Regions from separate parts of the Homo sapiens genome. Here all the other regions are linked to region 5. The links are contacts of gene promoters, found by promoter capture Hi-C in blood cells and fetal thymus (Javierre and others, 2016). All regions are on one chromosome and are shown on one strand. Each heading gives the region's core, a stretch centred on a gene start or on the middle of the fragment in contact. The rest is flanking DNA. Distances are from core to core; before and after follow the strand shown.

Region 1 (4,455 bases), core at 1,529-4,028, 380 kb after region 5:
TGCAAGTGGAAACCAAAATTATTTTACTCTTACATATTGTTTCTGAAGAGAATTCCTTTAGTCCAGAAACAAACAAAAGCATGCAAATAATAAACCAAAAACATCCCCACAGTAACAGAAAACCAAAACAAACAAAAAACAGACCTGGCCTGGTGCAGTGGCTCACACCTGTAATCCCAGCACTTTGGGAGGCTGAGGTGGGCAGATCACTTGAACTCAGGAGTTCGAGACCAGCCTGGGCAACATGGTGAAAACCTGTCACTACCAAAAATTAGCCGGGCGTGGTGACATGCCCCTGTAGTCCCCGCTACTTGGGAGGATGAGGTGGGAGGATGGCTTGAGGCCAGGAGGCAGAGGTTGCAGTGAGCTGAGACTCCACCACTGCACTCCAGCTCGGTGACAGAATGAGACCCCCCCTCTCAAAACAACAACAGCAACAACAAAAAATAGAACAGACCTTGTGACAGTTTTTTTGTCTTTTTGATATAAATAGAAATTCTCTGATACAAGCAAACACCCTAATCAGAAACACATTATCATTTTTTATTTTGCCAAATGGCAAAATGCCAAAGCACATTTTGATTTCTGCCAAGAGGCCAGCAGTTTTACCCACCATTTCCTTTGTACCCTCAGTACAAATGTTAACCCAGTGAAGGTGTATTCTTATGAAAAGAGTTTTGCCCTCTGGGACATCTAGAAATGTCTAGAGGACCCAGGTGCAAAGAGTACAAAGTGTCCTCTGTAGACCACACTTTGACATCTGCTTTACCAGAGGGTAGAGAGCATAATAATGTGTATATGTATGTGTATGTAATTCTCAGAGTCTTAGTATGGCTGTGGTACATGGCATATATGAATGGACAGATGAAAAATAGTACAAAGAATATTTTGCTTGTGGTCGACCTGGGTTTGAGTGTCAGGTCACTTGAAGTAAAGTGGAGATTACTGACAGTTCTTTTCTGAGTGGCTGTGAGGCTTAAATAAAATGTTAGTGAAAATACTGTAGAAATGAAAGGTGGTATTCTTTTGTGGCATTTTTAGACTTGACTCTCCCCAAGAGCAAATTTCAGCCCCTTGTCTTTGGGTATGTCATTGGATTTTCCAGCTGCTTTACATTTTATTCAAATATATGATACTGATTATCTGTATATAAGATACTGGTGTGAGCTGTGCCAGAAACACCTAAAATAAAGGCAGTTTGATTGTTCTCAAAAAGTTAACACATCATCTCACACATTAAGGAACAGTTATATAAACAGGAGTCTTTTGAACCCTAGCAAGCCTAGGTTTGGCTTCCCATTATAAACTTAGGATACTTGCCTCTTAAGACTGTAATGTTTTTAAACAGACCCTCCCAAAAAGTATACTAATATTGTTACATTTTTAAATGTTTTTAACAGTAATGTTTGAAATGAAAGAGTAACTGTTTCTGACAAGATTATTGTCATATTTAGATACAGCCAGAGGTAAAGCTGATGTCTCTGATTATATTATCTTACTGACAAATGGCAGAATGAGAACAAAAGGCTTCCTTAGAACAAGGAATTGAACTTACAGACAGACCCTTGAAGAAGCTGTTATTCTGTGACAGTGAGACAGTTATTCAAGAGAGTGGTGTTTTGATTGGGAATTGAGAATGATTCCAGGCCTAGCTCTACTATTCAGTACCTTTACCTTGGGCAAGTCGTTTAACTTTATCATGTCTTAATTTCCTTATCTATGAAATAAGTGTGTTAAACTAGATGGTCTTGAAAGATCACTTTAACATGAACCCGAGTTAAATATGAAACAAAATGCTATTCTGGCTTTAACCCCAACTAACTAAAATTCAGTGTGCCAAAGCACTATTTCTATTTTTCCGGTACCTTCTATTTAGTTGAAGTTTTATTCTATCTGGAGAATTTCATCCATTTGTCCTTTGAAGTAAGAGCAGAAGAGATTTTAGTGTCCTCCAGAAAGTGATTGATAAGTACCTTGTTTTTACTAACTTGACTGATGTAACATGAATTGAGGGCTGCTAGTATAGTTGTCACCTGAATCTTTTGAGTGTCAGTCTTCTGTGATAACTTCTAGGCAAGAGTATTCCTTGATGTTTTACTTTTTGTCTTCCATATTTGTAGCTAAATCTTACCTAAGAAAGTGTTTCCTATTGTTTTTTATGAAGGCATAATTATTCCCTTACAATTTTTTCAGCCTTGTATCTGAGATGAATCATTCCGTATTAGAGAGGAAAAAAGTTGAGTGCATATTACCTTCCATCTTATTAACTAGGTAAAGGGATGTTTTAAAACTTAGATTAAAATAAGCATTTACATAAATAAGGAGATACATCTTTTCCGCTTGACTATAACAGTTAGTATTACTATTGGCTTTGAGTAAAGATTCCCTAACAAGTTTTCATATGTGCTTAATTTAGCAATTTCCTAATATATTAAATAGGACTCTTGGTCTATATTTGCAGAATAGATGTCTTGGTTATTAAGTTAGGACTGGACAAAATCAACTCGAGTTTGTTAAATGATACTATGTCATTTTTCTAGGTCAATAAAAAGTAGTCACTGGAGCAACGATTTCCAGTCTCTCTTGATAGTACATCTCACCACATCAGACCTTTAAAATTTTTTGTTGTCAACCATTTACTGTTCCTTCTTCTCCTTCCGTACTGGTAGGTGGTAAAGTCCAGCAATGATTCATATTCGTCTCCCTAAAGCACTTGAGTGTTGGTACATTAAAAACCTAGGAATCTCAGAAATCTGGAAGCTAAAAAGCAGCCTTTTCTTGTAGGAAGTCTTAATAGCGGGCTTTAAAATAGAGTGACCGTACGGTTTATCTTCTAATCCGATAATACTTTTGAGAGAGAAAGAGGTGTTACTAATAATTATCCCAGGACAACATATAAACCATAACTATCCTGGGTAAACCAGGATGTATACTTTAAAGTATTTTTAAAGTGTATTAATTGAGTTAATTTTTAGAGTTTTCTCTCCGGATTGAGGTTTTCATTTTGACTTAAAAGTGGATTATTTTTATAATTTATGAAGTAAAATGTATTCCTCCATCATTGCTATTCCATTTTATTTAAAAATGATATATTTAAGCACATTTTTCTGTCAGTCATCGTAGAACATAAAAATCAACCATTTAAAGTCTTAAAAGTGTTCCTCAGAATTTGCACTGACTTAAAGCCCAGTGTCTGGGAGAGATTGAACCTTTCCTTGCTGCTCCTCTGTAAGTACCTACTAATATGCAGACGTTGTGTCACTTTGACTTATTTTTAAGTAAGATAAATAGATAGTCCTGCCATAGCTTTGGTACTGTAATCCTCTGTCTAGTTATTTGAAGACTTGAATACCTGAAATTTGATAATAATAGACTTTACCCTTTATTAGAATATTCTTATTGGTCTGGTTTCCTCTTTGGTAAGTTTAACATTTAATTAAAAAGTACATTAAGGAAGTTTGATGACTTTTTCTCTGTTTTGGATTGTATAATCTTTTCCTGTGATATTTACTCTGTGATCAAAGTAAAATTAGAAAACGTATACAAACACTTTTCAGCTCAAGCTATGAAGTATTAATAAGGCTTCGTTTTCTTTTCTCTTTAGATGTATGGTCTGCTGGCTGTGTGTTGGCTGAGCTGTTACTAGGACAACCAATATTTCCAGGGGATAGTGGTGTGGATCAGTTGGTAGAAATAATCAAGGTGAGAAGGTTGAATCAGAATATTTGAACTGGAAGGAATTTTTGTGCTACTTTAATAATATATATCACACATGTACACATACGAGAAACTTAAAAAATGGAGGAAGCAATCCAAGGTCACGTAGCAAGTTCAGCTATAAAGTGGGTATAAGAACGCCCCCCCAGCCTTTTGGTTTTTATTTGAGTTACTCTTCTCTTGTATGATCCTAGAAAAGCTATTATGTATATCTGATGCAAGAAAGGTATATATCTGTTATTTAAAGTACTTAAAAGCAAAATTAGACTATAAGCTCACTAAAATGTATGTAAGCTGAATAAAAGCAGAAGCTGTGTCTGCTTTTGCTCACTGTATACTCCCTGCTCCTAATACTCTGTGGAGCACATAGGAGATACTTGTATTTGGTCACTATTTATATTTATTCAGTATTTATAAAATGAAAGAATGAATGCCTACCTGTCTGGCTAGATCATTGATAGAAACAAAATTTTGACTTATGGATTTAATATAATTTTATTTATTGGGTCTATATGAATTTAATATAATTTTATTTATTTTAAATTTTATTTAAAGCTGAATAAAGATATGTCTGGTTTTGCTCAGACACAGCTTCTGCTTTCATTCAGCTTTGCATACATACACCTTTATTAACAAATATTTAAATATTATCTTAGAATATATGTTTTCTTTTAAGAACAGTAGAGCTGAGATTTTAATTGAGTTTTTAAATGTAATTTTTTTAAGTTTTAAATATTT
Region 2 (4,014 bases), core at 957-3,456, 500 kb after region 5:
ATAATCAGGGAAATTAAAATATTGAAATAATGGGTTGTCATTTGCACTAATTCAATGGAAAAAATAATAAAATACTGAATAAACAGCAAGCATTGTTTGGAGTGTGGAGGAACAGTAACTATCCTTCTCTGCTGGTGGGAGTACAGTCGGTTCGGGTACTGTGGAGGGCTGTTTGGCAGCCAAAAATTGAACCACATATATCCTGTGATGTGGCAATTCAACGTCTTAGTAGTTCCTCTAGTGCAATACGTGCACATGTCTAGAAGCAGACAAACACAGTGAGGTTCATTGGTAAGACTGAAAAATTGGAAAAGCTTAAATATCTATCGAAAAGAAAACGGCTAAATAAAAGAAGTGTACACTGTGAAATATGACGTAGCAGTTAAAATAAATGAAGTAGAGCTCTATACAGATATGGAAAGTCTCCAAGTCTTGCTATTGAGTGGAAAAACAGAATTAGAACAACATGGCAACAGATAGGTTTAATAGTCCATCTATGCATAGATGAACACACACACAGACACAATGGTCTGGCAGTAAATATATCACACTAAGTACTTTTGGGGAAACTGGAGATTAGGATTGACAGAATGGCCAAAGGTGAATTTAGGTTTATCTATACTGCTTTCTCATTTTCAAGGAGCATGAAATCATGTATTACTTTATAATTTAAAAAGTTATTACCTAAAAAACCTAGTCTAGTCAGTTTTGTGGTTGTCTTGGGTTTATTCCATAATAATTTTGGAACAAGTTGACAGCTTTTAGATCAGGAGTTGGCAAACTTTTTCTGTTAAAGGCCAGATAGTTAATATTTTAGGCTTTGTGGGCCATACTGTCTCTTTCGCAATTGGTCAATTTTGCTGACTCAATGAATCAGCTATAGCAGGCACTATTCCTCTCCCACATGGCCTCTAATGATATGGCCAGAGTTGAAAGGATGTTGTAGGGCAAAAACAGCCATATACAATACATAACGAATGGGCATGGCTGTGTTCCAATAAAGCTTCATTTATAAAAACAGCTGGTGGGCCAGAGTTAGCCTGTGAGCCATAGTTTGTCAACCCCAGGTTTAGACTTTTATGACATAACTAAAATATTTTTAAAGCGTATTTGTGTACCACAAAATACTTTTTCCCATTAACCAACTGATTAAATAAGCCTCTGAGGCCTCCCTTAGCATCCTTTCAACTCTGACCATATCATTAGAGGCCATGTGGGAGAGGAATAGTGCCTGCTATAGCTGATTCATTGAGTCAAGACTCAGTGGCCTCAGAGGTGTCTGTTGACCTGTCCTAGATATGGAGTGGCCTTAAAGCAGTGCCTCTGGCCATAGCTTCAGCCGAGCTGGGCTGTAAAGTGGAGAGAAGAAGGACCTGGTGGCACTGACCACATGCAGGCAAGACTCGGTTCTGTGGGACAAGGTGCCCTTTCAATAGTAGAGGTAGAAAACTCACTGGTTTGAAGCCAACTCAGCCGCAGCACTGTGCAGGGGTATGGCAGGTGCTCTGAGGGACCCCTCCTTGAAGTGGTGAGTCCTGGTGACTGTCATGCTGCTGTCCTTGGCCTCAGGGGGCTGCCAGCACTAACCCAGCAGGCCAAAAGGAATCAGGACTGAGTTGATCCCAGTTCCCATAGTCCCCAGCTCCCACAGTCCTTGGAGGTGGTATTTCCTGGGTCCAGGGACTCCAGCCCTGTAACAGGGAGCTGGTTGTATGTGTGACTTGTGGTAACTCATGCAGTAGTTAAGGCTTCTCCTGTGGTGATTTTTCTAGGAGGCTAGTGCAGGACCAGAGAGCATCAGTAATGGGGCTCAACATTAAGTGATTGTTTTCATGCTTTTTTTTTTCCACCCTAGAAATGAGGAGACAGCAGCAAGGCCAACATGATTCACGACCCACTATGATGCTGACCTCAAACAGAAGGTATATTTGTGTTCACACACATCTTTTGGCTGGAGCTGAAGGGCGGTCAGCCCCCAGCAAAAGAGAAAGAAAGAAAAACCATACCTGCTTGGTGGTAAGTTCTTTGCTCCGACTTCTCCCCTGGGGTCCACTTTGAACAATCCGGTGCAAAGGATCGATCAAGGAGTAGCTTTACCAAGGAGCCGCTGCCTTGTTCAGGACAGGAGTATTAGCTTATTCTCTTGCTTTTCTCACTGTGAACACTTGGCTTGCAGGCTGAGGCCGAGATTCCCACTGAAGTAAAGGCAGTGCTTCCTCTTCCCGTCCTAGTCATAGGTTATGATTTCCCCGGATATGAGACAATCTTGTCTCTCACCTATATTTCAGTCCAAGTCAGATGTAGGCACTAAGCGGCTCCATTGCCCCTCCTAAGTCCCAAGTCCAGCACTTGAACTAGCAAATGAAGAGATTACCGTATTTGTTCTCATTATGTTCTCCCTACTTTTTTCTTTCAGGTCTCTTCACTACAAAAACACAGGAAAAGGGGAAGAGAGTGGCAAATATCCGCTTTGTCTAAGTAATTCTGAGTGCATTTCATCAGTCTGAGGGTCTCTGTCCTTTACCACTAGGGGCAACATTAATTTGAACCTAGATCTCCTTATACTTCCTCCTTTGTTGAAACCACCTCCCTGGATAGTGTTACTTGATGTGAAAGTGAGCAAAGTATTGATTTATGACGGTGCCAATCACCAGCATGGTTATGTAAGAGGGGGGCAGGCACACAGGGAGAGGGAAAGGGTGTGAGATGAGGGGGCTGAGCACAGTTCTCGAGAATGTGACCCCACCACTTTGATCTCAGAACAGAAGGCTGACCAGGAGTGGGGAGGATGGACCAGCTGAGGGCTCTTTCCTCTCCCGGGTCCTGCCAGAGGGGAGCTGAAGAGTCCTCACTCTTCAGCCTCAACCTTCTTATTCCCTAGCAGCAGGTGCTCCCAAGTGAACAGAATCAACAAAAGCCGAATGTGGTGGATACCAGGATGTGTTTCTTCTACTTGCTTTGTTTATAAAGATGCTTTATGGCAGGTGAGGGGAGTGGAAGTAACTGCTCCTACCTAAAAGGCAAACAAGTACAAGCCTCTGGCAACAGTAAAGCAGGGGCATGGGCCCCAACAAGAGAGGGAGAGGGAGACCACGATTGAGCAAACAGGTAGAAAAGAGAACCTGGGATTGCCAAAAAATGACCACAGTTGTCTTCAGGTGAACATTTGGACTTCCTTACATTTATTTATTGACTTAAGTTGTTATTATTTTGAAGTACATGCTTTAATCCAGCCCTGGTGAGAAAAGCCAGAATATCTAAGTATGATTTGTTTGTTTTGTTTTTAATTGGTTTCTTCTCTATCCAATTTGCACTTCCCAAGGGATGAGAAAGACTTGAGGCTGGGATTTCCTAGGGGTTGACATTTCTCAAGTGGATGCTTGCCTTGCTGTTTTCAACCAAGCGCAGAATGTAAGGTGCTTACACAGCTCACTGCTGGGGACTTACTGCCAGCAGTGGGGACTGGGACCCACAGCCATAGAGCTCTGTCCTTTTTCCAGTCACATTTCTGATTATCCACATGGGATTCTGCTAGGGCTAGGAGGTATTGGATTACAAATCCCACTGGACAGAAAGTTGACTTGGGCCTTAGGCAGGGAGGACCTAGAGTAAGTGAAATATTGAATGTCATGAGGATATTGGAAAGAAAAAGAGTAAGTGAAATACTGGATTTCAGTACCAGTGGAAGTAGCCTGAACAGTGTGCTCTGGGGTAGGAGGACAGCATGGGGCTATATCTGGGGCCTGCAGGTCCCCTGAGAAACACAGATCAGAAGGCCATGGCTAAAGCCAAAGAGGGTGGGAAAGCTGGAAAGGGTTAAGAACTCACCCCAGGAAACTTATTTCCAAGATCAAAAGTAGGCCTTTCTGCACTGACAGGTATCTCCAAGTCCAGGGAAAAAAGGCATGACTCCAGCTCAGGTAGGCCACCTTGCCAGAAGTCCTTAGGTTATGGGTAACATACGTAGCTTTCATCATCTCTCAAATCCCTTCTGGCTCACAAGGGCCTGACCTT
Region 3 (4,287 bases), core at 510-3,009, 420 kb after region 5:
AGAAAATATTTCTATATTCATAGGAGAGCCAACCTGACTGTAATAATTGTTTTGTGAACAATGAAAGATTAAATTGGATAAGCGGACATTTGGCAAATCCCACTCCTGTGTAGGCATGTAGTACTATTTCATCAGCACATGATGTGAGGGAGAGAAATTATGTTACATAGTTAAATGCTGATATCTACATATATACAGCCAGTCATTTAACATCGTTAGTAGGTGCTTAGAAACTGCAACTTTAAGTGAAGTTATGCACAATAGGTCCTCAAATAATGTTGGTTCATTCAGCGTTGATGAGGGAAAACATTTGGTTTTATTATACGTTTCACTAAAAGTCACAGTTTTCAAGAACCTATCAATGACATTAAATGAAGATTTACTGTATAACTTTTCTTACCTATAGTAGAACTTGGGAAAACTCGATAAGGCTTTTAATTAGTACAGCTGAAATTCACTGGATGTTAGATTTGTCATGGCTAAGGAAAGGATTCTTTGTGTTTCTTATGCTCAACCTTCTTTACCTGAACTGGTATCTTAACGAAAAGGCTTAGAAAATTATGCAGTAGACTTGAGCTGAATTCAGTTTGTGTATCCTACCCTGTTAGATGCCAACTTCATAGATAGCAATTTTACTTGGGAGGAGGACTCTGAAAGTTGTTTTCAGTAGCCTCTGGTAATCATTTTTGATAGTACTTAAAGTGAATTGGATTACCTTGTATGTCAGTGCATCATTAGATCAATGTAGCAAAGCATGTGAAAGACTGCCAAAGAATATATGTTTTTTTTTTTTTTTTTTTTTTTGAGATGGAATCTTGATCTGTTGCCCAGGCTGGAGTGCAGTGGCACGACCTCGGCTCACTGCAGCCTCCACCTCCCGGGTTCAAGCAATTCTCCTGCCTCAGCCTCCCGAGTAGCTGGGATTACAGGCACCCACCACTACACCTGGCTAATTTTTGTATTTTTAGTAAAGATAGGGAGAATATTTTAAAAAATAGTATAGACTAATTTGTTAAGTAATTATTGAATTATGTGCTACATATGAGCACTTAAGTAGACTTGATTTCTTTCTTAGTTAACATAATTACCTATTCAACAATCCATGGCATTGTCTCACTTTTAATCCTATGTTTAGGTTTACAAATTGCATATAATTTCAGATGATTAATAGATTACTTGAGAGTCAATATTGGAGTTGCTCTTTAGGAGTATTCATGGTTTATTAGTTTTTAAAACTGGATGCTTATATTTTGTATATGACCAGGATATAGGATGAGTGTTGTACATTTATAGTAATAAAAACTAATGAGGAATAGCTATTTGGAACAGACATGGCTCTTGTTCTGTGTTCTGTTAGATTAATTATCACTGCCAACAGCCATTTAAAATGGACATTTTTACATTGCTCTGATTGGCTACATAATACAATAGAGTTGCTAAGAGCTGATGCTGTGAGATCCATGTTAACCATAGGTCTTAGTATGGTGTATGTGATTGTTTAAAAATGGCCTTTTTAAAGTGCTTGAGATTCAGTCACAACACTTAGCTCCAGGTTGAAATTTGAAGGACAAAGTCTATTCTAGGACATGTAGGGCAGAAATTGCCTCTGTCATTTTTTAGTTACCCAAATGCAAATTTATTTTGAATAATTCTTCATTTAAGGACTTCTTTGCATTTGTTCAATACTGCAGAAACTTTCTTTTTGAAAAAATGATTTTTTTCTGTTAGTTTCTTCTATGGGCTAGTATTTGTGATGGGAGTTGATATTTGTTTCAATTTAAGAAAATGAGTTGCTGCATAGGTGAGGTAGTATTTGAATCACTTTAAAAGTTCATGTCAGTGTTTTGGTTCTTTTCAGTATTTCCTTTCTCTTTTCTTTCTTTTTTCCTTCCTCTTTTTCTTTTCTTTCTTCTTCTTCTTATTTTTTGCTTTGTTTTATTTTGTTCTGTTTTATTTATTTACTTTTGGTTTTGTTTTTAAAGGGGTGTTTTGGGATCTCTGTGGCCTTGCTGCATACTTCGCTGGCCATATTTAGTCTGCGTACTAATTGTTAGTTGGCCCAGTTGAGTCTTATTTTGTGCTCTCAGTTCTTTCAGTCTGGTTTTCTATTTTTGTCCACCTGGTTGTGTTTTAGTTCATGAGAGAATTTATTCTGATGGGCCAGATTTTAATCTGTGTACTAAATTTTAGTCTGCAGACTAAAAGTAATCCGCGGATTATTTATTTTTGAAAAATATTTAATTCCCCCACTGGAAACTATCCTAAAAGAATGTTAAATTCTCTTAGAATAGCCAGGGGAGTTCACAGATACTGGTGAGTTCTGCCATTTTTTGTTCTCAATACCTAGACATAATAGACCCTGCTACCTCCCTTGCATATTTGGCTCCGTTGTGCCTAGGTGTTGGTATACATTACTATGCCTGTCACCTGTAACTGTGACTGTCCCTTAGTTGTATTGTTAATTTTATATATTTTGTTTAGCTTTTGGTGGGTGAATTGGGCATATTTGCAGATGGAACTGTGTTTAATTTGTAGTGCTGGAAGATGTAGGATTTATTTTTTCAGAGAGTTTTTCCAAAGAGGAAAAAATGTTCTCTATTTATTTTTCCTAAGTACCGGGTGCAAGGGTATGAGCGGGCAAAGCCCACAATAGAAAAAGTAAGTTAATACCCGCACTCCTGAGGTGATATGTCAATTTCCTGATGAGTCCTAAGATAATGAGAATGTCAGCAAAGAAACATCTTTTAGCAGAGAAGTCAATCCAAAATGGAGAATAATCCGCGGTGGCCTGATCCTTCTTAGCTCACACAAATTGAAAGTATCTGGCTTGAAATCTATAGTAATATAACTTAAATATATTTATTACTTTCCTCTCATCACTAATAACTTAGCAAAAAAATGTTTATACTGTGTAACTGGAACACATTAATAGAGAAAAAAGTAGCATATTGGGAACTTGAAACTTTAAAAGCAGGCTAATATGCCCCCTCCCAGCCATGTCTGTGGATGATGAATCCAGGTCATAGAAGACCATTTTACTTTGGGAACTTTACTTCTAGATTTCATTTTGATTTTAACTTTTTTTGGTTTTGTATTTTTTTAATAAACGCACTGGCATTGGAACATAATAAACTAAAATTAAAATGTTTCTTTACTGTGCCTCACCATTGCACAATCAAAAAAAATTTTTTTGCATACACTGTGGTGAAATAATTTTTAAAACTTGGACTTGCTACTGTGAAGACTGATGTTTAAAGTTTATAACTGTATAAACATTTTCTATGTCCCCCCCCACACCATGGATTTCTTATAACATTGGATATATTTTTCCTTGCTGGACTATTCTCTTTTGGATTGACTTCCCCTGTTTGGATTATTTCACTGCATTATCATCTTTAGGATTCGTCAGGAACAGGACATTTCACCTCAGGAGTGCGGGTATGTACTTAATTTTTTTTTCCCAAAATTTCAGGGCAGGTCTATAAAACTTGGGGGAAATCTTCTTTGAGAGGCTAAATAATTACTCATTCTTGAAATGTAATAGTAAACAATGTAAGTAGCTGTGATTTCTGTTTTTATTCACTGTATGGCATAGGTTTCACTTATAGTATATTTAGATTGTCAGCCTCTTGGGTGATTCATTGACATCTAGGCTGAAGTTTAGGAATTGTGGGGTTTTAAAATTATTATTTCTATTACAAGAATAAATATTGATGAAGATCCATGAAACCAAAGGTCTGAGTGTTAAGCAATTTCAGTGAGTAAGGAAAGAAGTGACAGCGGAAGCTTCTTTAATTAAAAGACAAATTTCAGTTCTTGGTGGTTTCCTTTTCTTTAGAAGCAAAAATAATTCAGATGAGCTAGTTTCTAGTTTGCCCTATAATTTTTAGAAGTTACATGCTAACTCACCCTGTATTATGGTCAGAAATCTGAACTGTGGGAGATACTGGGTTTTGACCCCACGTAATTTTCCACTTAACCTTTATTCACAGAGTACTGAACCTAGGCTTTTCTCATCAAGAATCTCTCAAGGGTTTAAAATGACAGTGTATAGTTTTTGTAAAGGCAGGTTAAATCTTGATTTTAATGTAGGCTTTTGACATGTATTATTTTCTTCATTGTTTTTAACTCTTGAACTTTATGAGTTAGGATTCCCTGACAAATATACGCTAATAAATGTCTTAGTACCGATATGGATGATCACTTGTAGGCAGTAAAACACCAAAAGATATGGGTGACTTAAAAAATTACTGGAAATAGGCCGGGCACGGTGGCTCACGCCTGTAA
Region 4 (4,656 bases), core at 1,854-4,353, 330 kb after region 5:
TCAGTAGGGGTGTTATTTTATATCATCAGTGTAAATACATGTTCGACCATAGATTATTGAGTTGATATGGGCTGGGCATTGTTCTAGATTCTAGACATACAACAATAAACAAAACAGACAACAAAACTATGTCATTTTAAAGCTTATATTATAGTGGGGAGGGATGGACAATAATGAATAAATATGCAAAATAGATATAATGTATTAGATGATTGTTACTCTGGAGAAGATTGAGGTAATGAAGGGGTTTAAGGATTGCTGAGAGTAAATGTTGAGGTTGCAATTTTAAATAGTGTGAGAAAGTATGTAGCATTTGAGGAAATACCTGAAGTATGTGAGGGGGGCTGATATTCAGATATTTATGCAGTTGTAAAGCAAAGTAGAGAAATCCCACATGGGTAAAACTCTTTACCCACTTTCCCTCAATGATTACATCTTGCAAAATTATAGTACATTATCACAATTAGGATATTGGCATTGATAGAATCCACTGATTTTATTCAAATTTCCTCAGATTCTCTTGTACTACTTTGGAGAGCTGTATGTGTATATATTTCTTTCTATTTTTTTTTTATTACATGCATAGGTTTGTGTATAGACCATGATAGTAAAGATACAGAACATCACAAGTATCCTCTTACTGCCCTTTTATAACCACATTGACTTCTCTCCCTGCCATTACTCCACCCCTAACACCCAGTGTAACCCCTGGCAGTAACCACTAATCTGTTTACCATTTCCAAACTTTTTTTCTTTCAAGAAGGTTATAAAAATGGAATCATATCCAGTATGTAACCTTTTGGGCTAGCTTTTTTTTTTTTTTTTTTTTTTTGTCTCAGCATAGGTTTCTGGGGATGCAACCATGTTGTTGCATGGATCAATAATTGTTTCTTTTTTATTGCTGAGTAGTATTCCATGGTATGGATATACTACAGTTTGTTTATTCACCCAGTGAGTGACATCTGGGGGCTATTCTAAATAAAGCTGCTTTGAACATTCATATGCCGGTTTTAATGTGAACGTAAATTTCTATTTCTATAAAACATATGCCCAAGAGTGCAATTGCTGGGATCCTGGGTAAGTTTTGAAGGTTGAGCCAACAGGATTTCTTGACAGATTAATGTGAGGTCAAGCCGGGCGCAGTGTCTCATGCCTGTAATCCTAGCACTTTGGGAACAATAATTGTTATTGCTAATAATAGCACTTAGGGAGGCTGAGGTTGGAGGATCATTTGAGGTCACGAGTTCAAGACCAGCCTGGCCAACATGGTGAAACCCCATCTCTACTAAAAATACAAAAAAATTAGCTGGGCATGGTGGTACACGCGTGTAATCCCAGCTACTCAGGAGGCTGAGGCAGGAGAATCACTTGAACCTGGGAGACAGAGGTTGCAGTGAGCTGAGATCATGCCACTGCACTCCAGCCTGGGCGACAGAGTGAGGCTCTGTCTTTAAAAAAAAAAAAAAAAAAAAAAAAAGTCAGAGAGAAAGAGGAATCAAGACTTCATGGTTTTTGACCTGGGCAACTAGAGGAGTGGAATTGCCAACAGCTGACATGGGGAAAGCTATGGGTAGAGCATGTTTAAAGGAGATGAAAAATTTTACTTATAACATGTCAAGTTGATGTATATTAGACACAGAAAAATTGTCACATAAGCAGTTGGTTAAAAGATTTTGGAATTCACAGGGGTGGTCTGGTCTAGAGATATACAATTGGGAGTCTGATCAGCCTTTAAAGCCCTGAGACTGGAAGAGGTGATAGAGGCAGCTGAAAGAGGTGAGAGACTAAGTTCTGGCTACTTCAGTGTTTAAAAAATAGGGAGATTATGAAGAACTAGCAAAGAAAACTGCAAATTTGGCCAATGAGGAAGGATTAAAAAGCAAGATAATTTAGTGTCCTGGAAAGTAATTGGAGAAAACATTTCAAGGAGAGAGGGAGTCAACCAATCATTTTTGTGTAAACCTTAGTTGTAGCACAAAGGCATATTCTGCACAGTAACCAGAGGTTTTAGTTGTGTTGTATTCCAGGGGATATATAGGCTGATGCCCCCGTTTCTAGTTTCTCCTGAGTAAGGAGAATTTTCGAGTTTTAGTTTCTGTATTCAGAAAGCAAATGGTCTAAGAGACAAGTTGAATTCTACCTGTTAAGCTCCAACTTAACACTCTTTTCATGAAAAAAGTGAACACTCTTTTCATGAAAAAAGTGAACACTCTTTTCATTAAAAATCTTTTTAATCTTCCTAGTTGGAAGTATTCTTTCTGTTTTTAGAATTCTCCATCCTTTTTTTTTCTTCCAGGGTCGAGGGAGAGACAGGGTCTCACCCTGTTACCCAGGCTGAAGTGCAATGTCACAATCATAGCGCACTGTAGCCTTGACCTCCCTGGTTAAAGTGATCCTCCCACCTCAGTCTCCCGAGTAGCTAGGAACACAGGTGTGCATCACCATGCCCAGCTAATTTATTTTTATTTTTTGTAGAGATGCAATCTCCCTGTGTTGTCAGGCTGGTCTTGAACTCCTGGGCCCAAGTGATCCTCCTTCCTTAGCCTCCCAAAGTGCTGGGATTACAGGCATGAGCTGCCACACCCACCCACCCACCCACCCCTTTTTCGATAACTCTAGTGGCACTTAACATTTTCTGTTGTATGGCATCTGTGTTAGTCCATTCTCACACTGCTGTAAGGATACTCCTTGAGACGGGGTAATTTATAAAGGAAAGATGTTTAATTGGTTCACAGTTCCACATGGCTGGGGAGGCCTTAGGAAATTTACAGTCATGGCGAAAGGGAAAGAAAGCAGGCACCTTCTTCACAAGGTGGTGGGAGAGAGAGTCATCGTGCAGGAGAAACTAACATTTATAAAACCATCAAATCTTGTGAGAATTCACTCACTATTAGGAGAGCAGCATGGGGGAAACCATCTCTCCCAGTCACTTCCCTCCCTTGACACTTGGGGGGGTATAGGTCCTCGCCTCAGCACGTGGGGATTACAGTTCGAGATGAGATTTGGGTGGGGACGTGGAGCCAAACCGTATCAGTATCTTTATTTGCCTACTTGTATACTTGTCTTATTTTGAATTATAAGCTCTTTCAATACTGAAGTCCTCCTTTATTGTCATTGTATTTTCAAGCACATAGTAATAAATGGAATTGAGTTACATTTCATTGTGATAGAGCATGGAATCTGACACACCTGGTTTAAATCTTGCCTGTGCTGTTTGCTACCAAATTTCTTAACCTCTCTATGCCTACACCCGCTCTTAAGTGGGGATCATAATGTTGCTTACTTGATAGGTTTGTGGAGAGGATTGAAGTTGTGAAGATACAGCTCTTAACAGAGTGGTCAGCTCATAGTAAATTCTTTGTGTTCTGTAGTTGTTGGTGCCATCATTGCTATTGTTAATAATAATATGCTGTTGTGTTATTGGCTCTCAAAGATACAGGGTTAAAGGAATACACACTTAAGCTGGCATTGACTTACATGCTAGGGCTTCCGAAAACTAAGTATTCAAGAACCTGGTTTATATCTACTTTAGTAGTCATATTACCTGTCAGGATATAAAAGTCCGTTATTCCCTTAGTTCATGCAGGCATCCTTTGTGTTGTTTCTCTTCCATTTCCCTTTCTGTGCTGGGCAAGTAGTCTGTGTAACTGATTGGGAAAAGTAGCATACATGAGTCCTTTTTATTGTTTCTATAAAATTGGGGTTTTGTTACAGAACATGTTAAGCCTACCTAGGCAGTATGTTATTTTATAACTATAATTTAAAATTTTAACTTACACACTAATTATAGTTATGTAAAAGGAAAATATCATAAATTTCCAGAACATTAGTCCCTAAATCAATATAGAAAGTCCACTATGTATATGTACTAAGTACAAAATTGAGATTGACGGTAAGGAACTTTCCTTTCTTGCCTTGTGGTGCAGGGATTGGGAAACAGTGAACCAGCCACCTGTGTTTGTAAATAAAATTTATAACAAACAGCCACGTTAATTCTTACACATATTGTTGTAAACAGACAGCCACATTCATTCTTATAAATATTGTCTGACTGCTTTTCCCCTACAACTACAGAGTTGAATAAACCTGAAGAATTTAGTGTCTGGTCCTTTATAGAAAATGTTTATTTGCCCCTGTTCAAGGGTATTATTTTTGTGGCTCATCTCTTAGAGCTTTTCTCACTCTGTCTCTTGTATTGATTCCTTTTCTTCTGTCTGCTTAAATGATGATATTCTCCAGAATCTTTTCTTGAATAGCTCACCTTTCCTAAGGCTTACGTTACTCCACTGTCTAGGTTCTACTTTCTGACTAATTTCTTTTTAGTGTCCTTTATAGACTTTCTGCTGCTGGGGAGTTTGATCACTTTTTTTCTTATTTTATAGGTTGAGCATCTTGAAACCAAAAATCCAAAATTTGAAATGCTCTGAAATTTAAAACTTTTTGAGCACCAACACGATGTTTAAAGGGAGTGCTCATTGGAGCATTTTGAATTTTGGATTTTCAGATTAGGAAGGCTTAATGGGTAAAGATAATACTAAATCCAAAAAAAGTCTGAAGTCTGAAACACTTTTGGTCCCAAGCATTTCGGATAATGTGTATTCAACCTGTATAGGCAATAATATATACTCTCCTATGGCTTCTGAACCACCCACACCT
Region 5 (4,108 bases), core at 583-3,082:
GTGGGTCAGGTTGTTTCCTTGATTAATCCCAATGCGAGTACCCGGATGTTTCAGTTGAAGGTGTTGTATCTACTCGTCCCTTCTGTTCCTCTCCGTGAGAGCCATGTACATTACCTGCTTCTGGTCAGCCATCTTGGCCACTCCCCATCCTTATGAAAGTTTACACTGTATTACAATTGCACAGGAAAGTTACTGCAGGTTTGGGAGTGGGACAGAGGATAGAGGATGTTGGCTTGTTTTGTCAAGAGAGTGACATTCTTAAGTCTATGTTGGTGGTGGGGACAGATAGGAGGCAAGAAAATCAGTTAGGAAATTATTGAAACAATTCAGCCCCAGATAATCGAAGCTTATCAAGAGCAGCAGTGTGAGAATGCAGAGAAGTGGACAGTTGCCAGAAACATCTCAGAGGTAAACATGGCAGGCCTGGAAGATGAAAACCTTCAGTGCCTGGCAACTGAGGGGTTGGAAATACTCCAATCTCAGAAAAGAGAATACTGGGATTGGAGGTGGGGGCCAAGCTGGGAGAAAGATTTCAATGTCTTGCAGAATATAGAGAGGGGTTGATGAGAATAACAGCCGAAGAGCCCAGGGGAATTCCCAGGTTAAAAAAAAAAAGCCCCACAGAGATCAGAAGGGCAAATCCTCAATCTAGAGCCACAGAAGTGAAGATTTGGCTCTAGACTCTGAAGTCAGCTCTCCTACGGAAAAAAGATGGACCCAGGCCTTTTTAACTCAGGCAGCCCCCATGGAGGAGAGAGATGGTCCTCCTCAGTTTCTGCACGTTCCAAATGAAAGGGTCCTTCTGTGTAGAATGAGAGATCTGGAGAGTCCTGGGTAAAATCTCAGACATAATTCTTTCTTCTGAGAAACCAGCTTTTTGCTTACTGCCTTGAGGAAAACCTTGTCTATCTTTCTTTCTTCCTCTTGTTTTCCCCCTCAGTAGAATCCTGTGAAAAGAAGTCTTTGGGTATCACAATGTGTAAAACAGTTAAGAATGTAGCCACTGTCTTGTCACAGTGGGGTCTGCGGACCTGGCCTCTCTCTTCCCGTCCTCTACAACCAAAGATTTCCTCTGCGCAGTTGTAAAAATGTGGAATGTCCTAATGCACATAAATAGGTCTGAGATTTTAAAATAAATGAAACAAATATAATATGGAAAGTCTAAGTGGATTCCCAAGACCATTTCCAGGTCTCCCCTCTATGTTTCTCCTTGAGGGTGTCTTAAACACAACATCTCACACATATTTTTAAGCGGAAGACAGTGGGCTGGGTGCGAACATCTTGTTTGTGGCCTCCTGTAAGCATTCTTGGAAAAAGAAACGTACTTGTCTTTCTGATTATAAAATAAGCAAAAGCTCAACGTAAAGAATTTGGCAACTCCAGAGAGTATAAAATAAGAAAACTAATTGGTAACTCCGACGCCACTCCAGAAATAAAAATGAGCATTCGCGGAGAATCCTTCCAGTCTCCTTACCGAGGCCGGCTAGGGACCTGAATCTGAAGCTCCTCGCCCCGGGGCCAGCTCCTGCGGCAGCCGCTGGCTCGAGGCCCGGGAAGGGGCGCTGAGGGGAAGGCGCCCCCCAGGGAAGGTCTCTGAGGAGACGGCCGGAGGCGGGGCCGCCCCAGGGGACTCGGCGGCGACGCAAGGAGAAAGATCCGAGGAGCTGGAGGAGCCGTGAGGCGCGTGGAGTCTGCAAGGTCCCGGAGCCCTCCCGGCCCTCGCGGGAGAGCAGGGTCGAGGCGCGCCACGCGGGCGGCGCCAGGGAGGGGCGGGCAGGCGTGGCTCAGCCAGTGCCCCGGCCAGAGGCGCCCGGCGCCCCGCGCACACCTCAGAGGCCTGCGCCGCCGTCCCGCCGCCTCCACGCCAGGCTCCCGGCGCGGCGATGGGCGCGGGCCCCTGTCTCTGCCCCGGCCCGCCCCTTCCCGCCCCTTCCAGCCCCGCGAACGCGCGAGACGCCGGGGGACCGTGGGCGTCCTGCACATAGCAGCGGGCTTGGCGCTTCTCGGCGGTCCGACGCTGATGAGGTGAGCACAGCGACCTTAAGGATCCACAAAACTTCAAACACTTAATTATTAAGTGAAAGTGGAAAGGGGGAGGGGCTTTCTCTCCCTTTCCAGAATCTGGGCAGTTTGTTTGGAACCGGTAAAGAAACTCTCATAGGAACTTGAGGTGAGCAGGGGTCACGCATCAGGGATGCGAGTGGCAATTTCAGTGGAAGAGACGGGAGAGTACTGTAATTTGGTGTGAAGATGGGGCCGTGGGTTTTCTGCTGAATAAGCGACCGGCTGTGCTGAAAATGAGAGATCCCGAAACAGTTTCCCACCGCCTGTAGACTTTCCAGAGTCTCCTCACGCCGAATCTGCTTTGCAGGGCATGTTCACCCCCAGGGTGTAGAGTGGCGGGCACGATGGGCTCCCCCATGGAGATTGCAAAGTCCTGAAAAGGGACAATTGTATTGCACTGCGTCTGTTGAACTGCCTTGCTTCTGGGCATGAGGGAGTCACCTGGAAGCTGCAACATCCTTGTACCCTGGCAAGCAGCCCTTTCCAAGTTAGCTCTGTCAGAAACTAGAGGCCTCTAGGTAGAACTCAAGGTATCCATGTACTCGTGAAGAATACAAACCTTGAGGTTTTTAAAATCGAATTTTGTTAAGATTTCAGGATAGAAATCTGGGAAGAGAAGTCATGGCATGGCATAACTTACCCCTTTGTTAGTTTTCTAGGTACATGCATGCTTGAATTAGAGGTAAATGATGCCCTAGCCTATCATAAAATGTCTTTCCTGGTGTAGTTCTTTAAACCAGAATATGGAGGATAACATTACATTTTTGCATCCTAGATAAAAGGGAAAGATTTTCAGATGGGGCTTACACAGCGGGAGAAATTGTTGATATAGTTGTATTAGGCAGCAAGGCCTGCAAAGAAAAACTTCTTTTTCTCCACCAGTGGCTGAATTCTGCACAGAATGTCTCCTCGCAGTCTGGGTAGCAGCCCGGCTTGCAAAAACAGTGCTTCTTTCATTGCTGCAGGTGGGGCAAATGCGCTTGCGGATAAATGGCTGGGGAAGCGTTTGCTTACAGGTTAAGGCAATTTGAGTCTGGAGAATAAAGTGCTTTAGCAGGCTGTGCTTGAGTTAGGTGTCCCTTGTGAGGAATAGAGGTGGCTTTCTGGTCCCCATTTTGCCAGCCTAATTCCCCTTCAGGGACACTACTGTCTCTGGAATGTTCCCTCTGTTTCCCCTTCTCTTCCACCCCCAGCTTTTAGCTTCTCCCCATTCCCCAGTAAAGTCTAGAATTGAGCCTGGTCAGAGTCAAAGTTCTGATAGCCTAGGGATATAGAACTTCAAGCCTGGTGAAGGCAGAAATGAGACCTAGGAGAGACCCAAGATGGGTGAGATGAAACAACTTTCAGCCTAGAAGGCTCTCAAAAGAGTGGAAAAATAATGATTGAGGGAAACAGATTCTCTGGAAAGGAGAATAGGTGCTTAAGTGTTTGTTTTCAGCTGAGGGTTTTAATATTTCCATTTTTGTTGTTTAACCATAAGGGAATTTCCATTATAGGGTAGGAGGAGGATGAGGCCTTCTCTGAAAACTGCATCCTTCTCCTTGAATTTGCATTTTATTCCATTCTTATGTAGGTTTCAGAGATTAATTGGGGGAAGGGGGAGAGAGGAAAGAAGCCAGAGGCTCTGACATGCTGCAGAAACAGTGCAACGTGGACTGACTTGGGCTGCAAAGGTGGATTTGGGGGTTGAAAGAAATGTTCTACATTTAGTTGAAAAAAAAAAATCAGAGCCTTTATTTTGCAAAGGTCTTGAGAATCAGAACATTCATGTTTAGTTGCTGATGAATTTTGCCTGATAAAGGATGCAAATCACTATCTCACCTTTTTTTCTCCAGTACTTTATTATGAAAAATTTTAGACATACAGAGATGTTTTCTACCTCTCATTTTATAAACTTATTATCTTAAAACAAACTTGTTAATAAAAATCAGTGTTTAGAATCCAGACATATGTGATCTGGTCCTGGACAGAGCTTGAATCAGAAGGTGTTTCAAATATAGATGTGTGAAGGATATTAACATTTTAAGAAAAAAATATGGATCTT
Region 6 (4,171 bases), core at 571-3,070, 470 kb after region 5:
TACATGGATACCCTTCCGGTCCTGCAGGGATCACTCCCTCCCAACCTGGGAGGGGCCCCCACCTCCCCAGTAAGGAGGCATTCCTTACAAGGAGGAAGCTTCACAGCCTGAGAGGGAGGCTGCTTACTCTGGGTTTTGAGGAAACACTACCTCTTGGCCTTGGGAATTCAGACCCTGTGCTACTGGCGCCCATCCTTCTTTTAGATCCCTAACACTGAGCTACAAATGCCATGTAATTGATCTTATTCTTCTGTGCCTCCCCATTGCCCAGCTTAGGACCTGGCATCGAGCTGGCTTTGGTACTTCCAAATCTAGCCTCCACCACTGATTAGCTGTGACCTTGTACAAGTTTCTTATCCTTGGGGAACTTCAGTTTCTATCTGAGAATGAAGATGGCAGTGACACCTCAGGTCACTGTGCTCGACATTGGTGGCCTTGAGAAATAGCAAGTGGGAAGCCCTGGTGTTAAATTGTCAGTCACTGGATTTCACCAAAGATCTCCCAATGTCCACATTTATAAGTATTCTTCTCTCCCTGCCCCTTTAAGCTTATTTGCTACCATCTGAACCCCATTCCAAACCTGCTGTCAGCATCACCCCATTAAATAAGTCACGCATGACTCCTACAGGGCCAGAGAAGAACCTCTGGGCTCCTAGAGTATAACCTACCCTCAACCTGCTGAAGAAACCAGGAGCTTGTGGCAGGTGTGTTTCAGCCCCACTTGACCAGGCTTGGCAAGGCAAGGTGGCCTACCCAAGGACAGATACACCTGGCACCATCCCTAATCCTACGACTGCACACATATTCTGGGGCTGTGGTTCCTGCCACCCCAGGAAGTTCCCATGTCTCCCACTAACCCCAGTTGCCCGATGGTTGTTGCCTCCACATCTAGCTCTGGGGAGACCTGACCCTTGGGCTCTGAGGACCACCCGCCCTCCCCATGGCCTTCACAGCCTTATCTTTTCTATTCCTCTCATTCCTTGCTCTGGAACTGTCAACATGTGATTCCTGCCCCTTTAAGGGAGAGTACAAAAGACTATCTGAATGCCCACTCTGTGCTGGGTGTTCTTCGGATGTGTTCTTATTTCACAGAACAGCCCTGCAGGGGAGGCATTTTTAGCTTCCATTGAGCAGGTGAAGAGGCAGAGACACTGGCAGGCCCACAGCCACAAAACTAACCAGCCATACAGCAAGGGCTCTACTCCCCAGCAGCACTGGCTGCCCGGGGAAAGGGCACAGGAAAAGGAGGGTCTTCTGACACCAATATCCCCCAAATTCAGGATCTACCCCAGGCCCTTTGAACCTCCTGGCCACTTCCAGTTCTTTTCCACACCCAACCACCCAGTCTCCATGTCCTACCTGAAGTAGGAGATGACTTTGGCAAAGCTGATGATGCCTTTGAACATGTAGGTTGACATGTCAGCCATGTGGGGCAGCAGGGAGAAGATCTCTTTCCCGCCACTGTCGGCTGGGGGTTTGTAGTTCCAGACACTGCCATCCTCCCCCCGCAGCTGCAGAGAGACCTTCAAAGAGCACAGATCTTTCCGGACCTGGCTCCACTTGGCAGCTTCTTCCCTCGATGGGGCCTGCAGAGACTCTGGCAACTCGCAGCCACTGCTAAGCACCCCTGGCAGCTAGGACACATGCCAGGAGGTGGACAGAGGAGAGACAGCATGTGCTTTCATAGACAGGTCCCAACTCAGGCCCCAGCCAAACATGCACAGCCACAGTTGCAGCTCGAGAGGATGCACAAATGCAGGCATTCACACCCACATGCATGCGTGTGTCCTCACACATATACACACACAGCATTTGTTTCTTCTCTCTGGTGTTCTCTATCAGATGAAGGTGCTTTGGGGATCTATGAATTAATGGTCACACACATCCCTGCTTGGTTAAAATGGAGGGTAAGGGGGACTGCAACCATGGTGTGTCATCCCAAGCATTCCAGATGTTGGGCTCAGGAGACTCAGAAGGTTTAGGGTGCTATGGATGGGAAGAGCAGATCTGAGGTCACTGGGCTAATCCAGTTATTTGGGCTGTGAAGGGCCACTTGAGATATCTATCAGTGCAAAGGGGAAGGAGGGCACTTAGAGCACAGACATAGTTAATGTGCTGGGATCAAGAAACACCAGTTCACAAAAGTCACACCCCCAACAGGTCCTGATCCTGTCCTCATAAAGCCCCGAATGCCAGCAACACTGGGGAACTGCCTAGCTTTCCCTCCACTTATTGCTTAGACCCAGTTCCTACCTGCCTTAAAGGAGAGAGCAGTGATTTTTCAAACCTGAACCTGCAACAGAATCACCGGGGGGTCCTGCCCCTCCCTGGAGCTTCAGATTCAGGAGATCTGAGGTGACCTGAAAATCTGCATGCTGATGCTGCTGACCCAGGGACCACACTTTCAGAACCTTTGGGAATGAGACTAAGGCTTTGAGGAGCTAGCACAGATGCAGGACCAGCTCTCCAAATCTACCCTCCACCACTGATTAGCTGTGACCTTGTATAAGTTTCTTATCCTTGGGGAACCTCAGTTTCTATGTGAGAATGAAGATGGCAGTGACACCTCGGGTCACTGTGCAGTTCCTCCTACCCGGAAATTCTTGAAATGGGAGAAGGTAGTGTCAAAGGTTTTCATCTGAGCGTCCATCAGCTCCCTGATCATCATCCGCTGCTCCTCTGTCAGCCCCTGCACTCCCAGTGGCTGAGTCCCTGTCCGTTCACTTTTCTTCCGCTTGATCAAGGCCCGCCTCTCCTCCACGGCCTCGTCGGACATGATCACTGCAGGGACAGTGAGGCTGGCTCAGGCACACGTGCCCCTGGTGAGCCTCCAGCCCCCTGGAGAGCCACTGTGTAACCCTCTCAAGGCAGCAGAAGCCGTTAGGCAAAAGAGAAAGTAATGGTGACAAGCAATTCTCCCCTGTCTGGACTCAAGAGGCCTGTGGGCTCTTCTGGAGAAACACTTGGGTGAGGACAGAGATGAGGTGAGGCTGGTGTTTTGCCCTCTGCAGTGGAGTTTGTGAGGACACTGTGGGGCCCTGGCAAGAGCACGGGCTTCAGAATCCAAAGGCGCTGGGTTTGCATGAAAGCTTTGCCACTTACTACCTGTGACCCCAAGCAACCTCCTTAACCTCTCCTGCCTCCAGGTTTCTCCTTTGTGATCCGGAGAAACCGTGTTTACCTCGCACCGCTGTTAAATGAGACCTTGCATGTAGGGTGCCTAATATAGTTCCTGGTACATAAGAGATGTTCAGTAAATGGCATCTACAATTATCATTTTCTGGTGAATTATATACCAAGACTCTTCAGAGGTGTCTGGGTCTCCAAGACCCTAGAGAGCTGGGCTACAGCTTAGCAAGAAATAGCAACTCCAGAGACTTCTTATATAGCCCAGAGCCTTAGGGTCTTCTGTGGATTTCTGGAGCCCACTCATGTGTGTAGAACAAAGCTATGAGGTCCTTGGTGGGGAGAGATCAAGAATGCCTGCCAGCAGCCTAGAGAACTTGTCCTTGAAAGAAGCAGCTTTGGGTCCCTTTGTGTTCCATGGAGACAAATATGCACTAGAAACACCTAGCCTTTTCCGCATGAGCCTTAATCTCATAGTGACCTAGGAGCACAAATATATCAAAGTTAAATAGGTAGAATGAGAACACCTCATGTCACCTGTCTGCAAACAGTTCCCCTATAAAGATCCAGGTCTGGGGCAGCTGATGGGGCTAGCACCTAGAAGGCCCCGGGTCCTATCACCCATGTGGCTCCTGCTTCCCTCCCCCAGATTCACACTCCTACCCGCAAATGTGGTTTCAAACCATTACAACAATTATGAAGGGGACAAAAAGAATGATGCAGGAGCAACTGAGGGGAGACAGAGGGCACGCCCTGTCCAGGGCTGCCCAGCACACATCCCAGGGCAGAGATTACCGACTCCCTCCATCTCCCAGAGGGCCGACTGCAAGCGCTCCCCCAGGTGGCTGCCTGTTGCACACGGACACCAGCTCACATGTGCACGTGTGTTCACGCGCACACTCGGCGCGCATCTCCACACAAGCATGCCCACACCCACGGCACGTCCTTACTCAGAGCCGTGCACCCCGGCGCCGGCCCGCCCGCGCGCCCACTGCTCACTCTCCTTCTTCATGCCGCTCTCCAGGCACTTGCGCAGGCGGCAGGC

Evidence for each region. The method cuts DNA at HindIII sites, captures the fragments that hold promoters and counts their contacts. A CHiCAGO score of 5 or more calls a contact.
Region 1: a contact is called between a fragment that was not itself captured here and the fragment with the promoter of GPR156 in region 5, in 1 of 17 cell types (neutrophils). The highest score is 5.8, in neutrophils.
Region 2: a contact is called between the fragment with the promoter of NR1I2 here and the fragment with the promoter of GPR156 in region 5, in 8 of 17 cell types (neutrophils, activated CD4 T cells, total CD4 T cells and 5 more). The highest score is 10.1, in neutrophils.
Region 3: a contact is called between a fragment that was not itself captured here and the fragment with the promoter of GPR156 in region 5, in 1 of 17 cell types (neutrophils). The highest score is 6.4, in neutrophils.
Region 4: a fragment that was not itself captured here is called in contact with the fragment with the promoter of GPR156 in region 5 in 1 of 17 cell types (neutrophils); the score reaches 6.0 in neutrophils.
Region 6: a fragment that was not itself captured here is called in contact with the fragment with the promoter of GPR156 in region 5 in 1 of 17 cell types (neutrophils); the score reaches 5.8 in neutrophils.

The regions. Positions count from the first base shown.
Region 1 is chr3:119,905,002-119,909,456 of GRCh38, reverse strand. GSK3B (glycogen synthase kinase 3 beta) reads left to right here. Exons shown (of 11, transcript NM_001146156.2): 7 at 3,605-3,702. Among named protein-coding and RNA genes, the nearest start is that of NR1I2, 130 kb to the right of the region's middle. The HindIII fragment of the contact is 9,633 bases long and covers 1-4,455 here.
Region 2 is chr3:119,780,293-119,784,306 of GRCh38, reverse strand. It overlaps NR1I2 (nuclear receptor subfamily 1 group I member 2), which reads right to left and starts at 2,206. Exons shown (of 9, transcript NM_003889.4): 1 at 2,007-2,206. The HindIII fragment of the contact is 6,406 bases long and covers 1,006-4,014 here.
Region 3 is chr3:119,865,741-119,870,027 of GRCh38, reverse strand. The region is part of intron 8 of GSK3B (glycogen synthase kinase 3 beta); the gene reads left to right. Among named protein-coding and RNA genes, the nearest start is that of NR1I2, 86 kb to the right of the region's middle. The HindIII fragment of the contact is 4,059 bases long and covers 1-3,788 here.
Region 4 is chr3:119,956,328-119,960,983 of GRCh38, reverse strand. All of the region lies in intron 2 of GSK3B (glycogen synthase kinase 3 beta), which reads left to right. Among named protein-coding and RNA genes, the nearest start is that of MIR6529, 130 kb to the left of the region's middle. The HindIII fragment of the contact is 5,917 bases long and covers 145-4,656 here.
Region 5 is chr3:120,282,946-120,287,053 of GRCh38, reverse strand. GPR156 (G protein-coupled receptor 156) reads left to right here and starts at 1,832. Exons shown (of 10, transcript NM_153002.3): 1 at 1,832-2,025. It overlaps LOC124909418 (a long non-coding RNA gene), which reads right to left and starts at 1,898. Exons shown (of 2, transcript XR_007096029.1): 1 at 1-1,898. The HindIII fragment of the contact is 9,811 bases long and covers 349-4,108 here.
Region 6 is chr3:119,810,149-119,814,319 of GRCh38, reverse strand. NR1I2 (nuclear receptor subfamily 1 group I member 2) reads right to left here. Exons shown (of 9, transcript NM_003889.4): 3 at 4,126-4,171; 4 at 2,594-2,781; 5 at 1,360-1,634. Among named protein-coding and RNA genes, the nearest start is that of NR1I2, 30 kb to the right of the region's middle. RefSeq lists enhancers at 4,084-4,143, 4,121-4,171. The HindIII fragment of the contact is 2,542 bases long and covers 550-3,091 here.